2 separate regions of the Homo sapiens genome follow, and region 2 is linked to region 1. The links are contacts of gene promoters, found by promoter capture Hi-C in blood cells and fetal thymus (Javierre and others, 2016). All regions are on one chromosome and are shown on one strand. Each heading gives the region's core, a stretch centred on a gene start or on the middle of the fragment in contact. The rest is flanking DNA. Distances are from core to core; before and after follow the strand shown.

Region 1 (3,177 bases), core at 678-3,177:
TCACAGTGCTTCCCTGTGCCTCAGTTTCCCCTCTTCAGACTCTATGGCTAATGACAGAGCTTTTCAGATTTGGTGGAAATGCTCTCCGGGGCGGGGAGCAGACGGGGAAGGCTGCCCCAGCTAATCTCCGCAGCCAGTACCCTCGAAGGCTGAGATCTCGGGGAGCACAGCCTCCGATTCGCGTTTTCTAGGCACCAAAGTCCCTCGCTGGAGGAAGAGGAGGGGAAGAAGGCAGAGGAGAGGGGAGGGGCGGACGGATCTGGTCCTGGGCTCCCGCGCGGAGCCCCCTCCTCCCACAGCCGCCGCTCGCGTCCCCGCAGCGCATGACCGCGGCACTGCGGCTGCAGGGCTCTCTCCCCCGCCCGCGCCGGATTCCTGGAGCAAGGGGGTGGGGGGCTCGGAGGTGCAGGACCCATCATTCCGACACGCGCCGCGACGCCAGGAGTCGGGGATGACGCCCCTGCTCCCTCCCCTCGTTCCTGTTTCTCGGAGTTTTTCGACCCCTGAGCGCGTCGCTGAGTCACCTTCCCGGAACGCGCTCGGGACGCTCTGGACCCAGCGGGGACTGCCCGGGGGCCGCGCAAGGCGAAGGCGCACCCGCCGATACGCGCGCGGAGCTGCGGCCCCAGGGACCCCGCGTCCCAGCCAGTGCCCCCCGACCCGCCCGGGGACTCTCGGGTCCCGCCCGTCTGACCCCCCAAGTGTTGGGAAACGGGGCCGAGCTGCCTGGGTCCTCCGGAAGAGAAGACACCGCGGAGGCGTGCCGGAGTTCAGGGCGCCGCCCGGCTAATTGGCTGCGTGCTCCTCCTGGACCTGCCTCTTCTCGACTTTAAGAAGCGATGAGAGAGGTGTGTGGGGGCGGGTGGGGCCGGCGGGGGCGCGCGAGCCCCGCAGCCTCCCGCAGGGGCTTGGTTTCTCCTAACTCTGGCCCTACCTGGGCAGGTCACCAATGGGCCTTGGCAACTTCTTCCTCCGTCTCCGCCGTAACCCCCCAGGGATCTAACTCGAGGTGCTCGCGGACACGTTCTGTGGCTTGCCGCGATAAGTGTATCACAAACACACTGACAAACGCGTCCCTACTGGCCTCCAAAGAAGTGACAACTTCTGAGCGCGTTTCCGGCGCCCCTTCTTCACGCTGAGCCAGAGGGGGCGGGGGGCACGTACCACATGCTTGGCTTTCCAATCCCGACGGGGGCCCCCAGGCCCATCTACACTGTCAAGCCTCCTCTCCGGCTCGGAGCCCCCGGCCTGTCGCCTGCTCTACCCGGGACAGCGCGCTAGGCGGCCTCAGGCTCGGTAGCCCAGCTGCAGCGTCGGGAAGTTAAAAATAACCTCCGTGGGAGCGCGGGGGAGGAAGAAAGAGGGAAGCTGGTGGGCGGCGGGCGAGACGCCCCGGCCTGGAGAGGCGCCCCGGGTGGCGTGCGGGCCTCGAATTTCGGGTGGGCTAGGGCAGAGCGCGCAAAAGGGGCGCTGCATCCCGGCGCCGACAGCACCCGCGGGGGCGAGGTCGTGGCGTCGAGGTGAAACCAAGGGTCCCCCGGGAGAGCGGAGCCGCGCGCGCCCGGCGCTCGCTCCGACACGAGTTCGCGCGGAGCCCGCGCCTCCGTCTGCGCTGCGCGGTCGCTTTCGCGCGCCCCAGACACTGCGCTCGCGGCCGGGCCCGGGACTCCGCGCCTCGCGGCCTGCCGCCTCAGCTCACCCGGCCAGGTCGCGGCGCCGCCTTCTAGCCAGACGCCTAGGACGAGCGGCGGGGGCGCGCTTGCCGCTTCCTAGGACCCGGGCGGGAACCAGCTCGTGGCCCGGCCGTGGGCGCGGGCCGTGCCGGAGGCGGCGCGCTGAGGCCGGAGGCGGGCAGAGGCCGAGGCCGCGCCGGGCTCAGGTTCCACCCCCGGGAGCGCGGGGCGGAGCCAGGCCGGCGCCGAGGCTCAGTGCCCTCCCCGCTCCGCGGCGCCGGCTGCGAAGTTGAGCGAAAAGTTTGAGGCCGGAGGGAGCGAGGCCGGGGAGTCCGCTCCAGCGGGGCGCTCCAGTCCCTCAGACGTGGGCTGAGCTTGGGACGAGCTGCGTTCCGCCCCAGGCCACTGTAGGGAACGGCGGTGGCGCCTCCCCAGCAAACCGGACCGACTGGGTAGGGCCGCCCACCCTGCCTTCGCGCCGCTCGTGGCTCCTGTGCGGCCCGCCCTCGCGGGGCCCCGGGAACTGGGCCACTTGTCGCTTGGGCGAGAGCAGGCGGCAGCTGGTGGCCCGGTTCGGGCTTGGCTTTGGCGCGACCCGGGAGCGGCTCCCACGAGCGCCGCGCGCGTCGCAACGGAGCGGGGCCCTGAGAAGCGCGCGCCGCGGCTCCCACCGCTCTGGAGCTCCGGGCAGGGGACACGGCAACCTGGATGGCTGGGGCAGGGATCCTCTCCCAGAACTTCGTGCCCAGCAATGTCCGCTCAAGTTCTGGGATTTTTACGCAGCTGGACTCCCCTCCCCCTGGCAGCCCCGAGGGGTGAGGAGCTAGTCCGTCGGAGGGAGCCACGGGGCTCTGACTCATCCGTCGGGCCGGAACCGAACCCCAAGCCCCAGGGAGAAAGCCCCGGAGCAGGCGCCCTTCTCAGGGATTGTAGGCTTAGTCACACGGCGGGGGCGCCCTCGGAGGCACCGGACCTCAGCTCTCTGGACTTCCCGGGAACCTGGCTCCCCGCGCGTGGTCCCGGGATTTAGTCGGGCGCTCCCCACCTCTGGCAGCTGCGGCCCCGGACTCCGCCAGCGCTGTCTTCTCTCCCTCAGGTCCAGCCGCCGCAGGGAATGACGCCGGTGCTCCTGCAGCCACGGCTCCGGGCGGGGAAGGCGAGCCCCACAGCCGGCCCTGCGACGCCCGCCTGGGCAGCACCGATAAGGAGCTGAAGGCAGGAGCCGCCGCCACGGGCAGCGCCCCCACAGCGCCAGGGACCCCCTGGCAGCGGGAGCCGCGGGTCGAGGTTATGGATCCAGGTTTGTGGGGTTCCTGCTGGGAAGGGCTGTAGGGGGATTCCTGTTCCTCGCCAGGAATGATGGAACGCCCAGCTGGACGAAAGGGGCTGTGGACGATCGGGAGAAACATTATCCCTCACGAGGCCAGAAGCCGGCCGAATCTGAGCCAAGGAAGGGGGTGGCAGGGGCGCCGCGTCCCCACCCCAGGTCTCCCAGCAAAGGCCG
Region 2 (3,121 bases), core at 271-2,770, 230 kb before region 1:
ATGGTCTCGATCTCCTGATCTTGTGATCCGCCCATCTCGGCCTCCCAAAGTGCTGGGATTACAGGCGGGAGCCACCGTGCCCCGCCTTTTTTTTTTTTTTTTAAGATGGAGTCTCACTCCATCTCAGCCTCCCAGGCTGGAGTGCAGTGGTGTGATCTTGACTCCCTGCAACCTCCGGTTCCCAGGCTCAATTGATCCTCCTGCCTCAGCCTCTCGAGTATCTGGGACCACAGGCGTACGCCACCAAGCCTGGCTAATTTTTGTATTTTCTGTAGAGATGGGGTTTCACTGCATTGCCCAGGCTGGTCTCCAGCTCCTGGGCTCAAGTGATCACTTGCCTCAGCCTCTCAAAATGCTGGGATTACAGGCGTGAGCCACTGTGCCCGGCCTATCTTTGCCTTTTTCCATCACTGACTACCCCAGGGCCTTCATAGAACTATCACTTGCCACGATGACTTTCCTGCCACCTATGTAACAGTCTGCCAAACTCCTCAGAGCCACATCTGCTTAGCGTGGTCTCGCAATTCTAGTCTTACTACAACCTGTCACACCCATCAACTGAGATCTCCTTCCTTTATTCCTTTCAGAAGGAATCTCAGAACACACTACTCCCCAGTGAAAAACCAAAAATCCACCCTTGGTCTTGGGGCCCTGGAAGACCCAGAAGCTTCTTAGGGGGAGAGGGCTAGAATGACAAAAGTGCCTCTAAGCCCCTCACCAGTGTTATCAGAGTGGTGAGGACGGGAACCAACAAGGTTCGCAGTCCTTGCCACCAGCCAGGTCTCCTGGCAGAGCCCGTGAGCAAGGTGCAGGGCACAGGGACAACATGGGATGCAGCCCGGGCTCCATTTCCCACTGGCCCTCCATGAAGGGAGTGGCACCCACTTGAAGAGGGAAATAGACTCAAGCAGAGACCAGGCGCATGTGCAGCTGTTCTGACGGGAGAGAGCTGGCCACAGGAGCAATGAGGCGCCAAGACGGCCAGTGGTATCTCAGCCCCAGGATAGAAAGCTGAACTTACAGCTGAGTGTGAAGACGCCTATTTATTCCACGGGACCTACCAAAGTGGATATTCCTGTCTGTAACCTAGCAGACACTTCCAGAGAGTTCTCCAGCAAATTTTCTGCCAGTGTGATGCTAACAGTGGAAGCAGAGACACATTCTGCCTAGAGAGACGTGCTTTTCCCTCTCAAGTAAAAAGGCAACCAGAGGTTTTGAGACATCACTTTCACCCAACTACTGACCAAGGATGCCAATTAAAAACAAATCATGGCTGGGCGCAGTGGCTCACACCTGTAATCTCAGCACTTTGGGGGGCCGAGGTGGGCAGATCACCTGAGGTCAGGAGTTCAAGACCACCCTGACCAACATGGTAAAACTCCGTCTCTGCTAAAAATACAAAAATTAGCCGGGCGTGGTGGCGGGCGCCTGTAATCCCAGCTACTCAGGAGGCTGAGGCAGAGAATCACTTGACCCCAGGAGGTGGAGGTTGCAGTGAGCCGAGATCGCGCCACTGCACTCCAGGCTGGGCGACAGAGCGAGACTCTGTCTCAAAAAAAACAAAAAACAAAAACAAAAAAACTCAAATCCTTTCCATTGTCCTTGCCACAGAAGCGTTCCCATTTTTACTGAACAGAAATCCATATAGTCTCACACATATTTTTTTTCTTGGAAAATCTTAGTATATTGAATACAGCCCCTCATCTTGAGGCCTCTGGTGAGGATATAATGGGACACTTAACATGCCTATACCTGAGGCCCTCTCCCGAGAGCCAACACAGGCATTTGATTTCGTGTCTGGCACAAACTGTGAGCCCACCATAATCTCTAAATAGCTGGCTCCACAAGTCACCCTAGGGAACCCCAGGGCTTCTCTCTTCCTCCCAGTCCTCACTCTCCTCCCATGATTCCATGGAGTAACTATCAACAAGCAGGTTAGCTGGAGGGAGTCAGGAAGAGGAGGAATAAGCTGTTTCCACTAGCACTGTTGGCTAAAACAACTCCCAGCAGCTCCCTCTGCCAAAAAAATAGGGGTGGGTAAGGGAGTCCCTTGAGGGAGGCAGGAACCTAAATTTCTCTCCTAAAGCCAAGTAAGGGGTTGACCAGGGTAGAGCTGCCTCAGACACAGGGCACAGCTAAGAAAGAGACATCATCTTCACCCAACTACTGACAGAGGATGCCAGTTAAAACCAAATCCTTTCCATAGCCCTTGCCACAGAAGCATTCCCATTTTTGTAAAGCAGAAATTAATACAGTCTCACAAATATTTTTTCTCATAAGCTCTTAGTACCCTGGATACAGGCCCTTGCCAATTAGGAATGGGAGCCTTGCTCACAGCCCCACGCGAGCGCCTCCCAGGTGTGTGCGTGCCCAGCAAGCTTGGACGGGGTGAAGCATTGGCAGGGAGGACAGTGCTGGCACGGAGTGAACACGAACTTTCATACCAAGTCTAGAGAACATACATGAGTTTAGAAAATAAACAAACCAGACAGACAGATTTACATTTGGCAAAATGATGTGAAACACAAATGGACAGATGGAAGCCAGGCCAGGAGCGGGAAGGCAGGGAGTGAAGCAGCCCCTGGGCCCCAGCAGCTCCAGTCCAGGCCTAACTGGCAGGAGGCTGGCCCCGTGGTCAACGCTCCCTCCTCCACGCTCAGGCAGGAAGGGGGTCTTCCCTGGGCCTGCGCAGGAGAAGCAGGGGAACTGATACTGCCTCTTTTGGTCTCACTGAAAATGAAGAGGCCTGGGCAGTGTCTTTAGAACAAACTAAATAGAAAATGACTCAAGAAAGCCCTTTGAAGGGCTGGAGAAAGTATCTCTAGAGAATTCCAGCTTCCCCTGCCACAAGCTTGTGTGGGGCCAGAGTGTGCTTGGACTGTGTCTTGCACAGGCTGATGGAGAGTGGCAACCACAGAGGTCGTGTGGCTCCAACGCCTCCAGCCACGTCGCTGAGCGAGTAAAGCACTGGACCCGTGATGTGGCTGTTCTGAAGCTGAAGTGAGTCTTCGTTCAGGGAATGTTTAAGAGGATTCAAACAACACGATGTGAAGGACAATTTCTGTCGTGAAACCCGGAGGGGACATTTGACTCAGTCCGCTTGGGCAAGATGTGGATTTTA

What was found. Contacts are between HindIII fragments. The CHiCAGO score rates a contact against its expected background, and 5 or more counts as called.
Region 2: a contact is called between a fragment that was not itself captured here and the fragment with the promoter of SPHK1 in region 1, in 1 of 17 cell types (M1 macrophages). The highest score is 5.1, in M1 macrophages.

Annotation. Positions count from the first base shown.
Region 1 is chr17:76,382,682-76,385,858 of GRCh38, forward strand. SPHK1 (sphingosine kinase 1) reads left to right here and starts at 1,928. Exons shown (of 6, transcript NM_001142601.2): 1 at 1,928-2,125; 2 at 2,770-2,973. The coding sequence starts at 2,964. RefSeq lists silencers at 566-855, 876-1,015, 1,596-2,295. The HindIII fragment of the contact is 9,575 bases long and covers 1-3,177 here.
Region 2 is chr17:76,148,481-76,151,601 of GRCh38, forward strand. The region is part of intron 18 of RNF157 (ring finger protein 157); the gene reads right to left. The region is part of intron 6 of RNF157-AS1 (RNF157 antisense RNA 1); the gene reads left to right. Among named protein-coding and RNA genes, the nearest start is that of FOXJ1, 8.8 kb to the left of the region's middle. The HindIII fragment of the contact is 1,711 bases long and covers 666-2,376 here.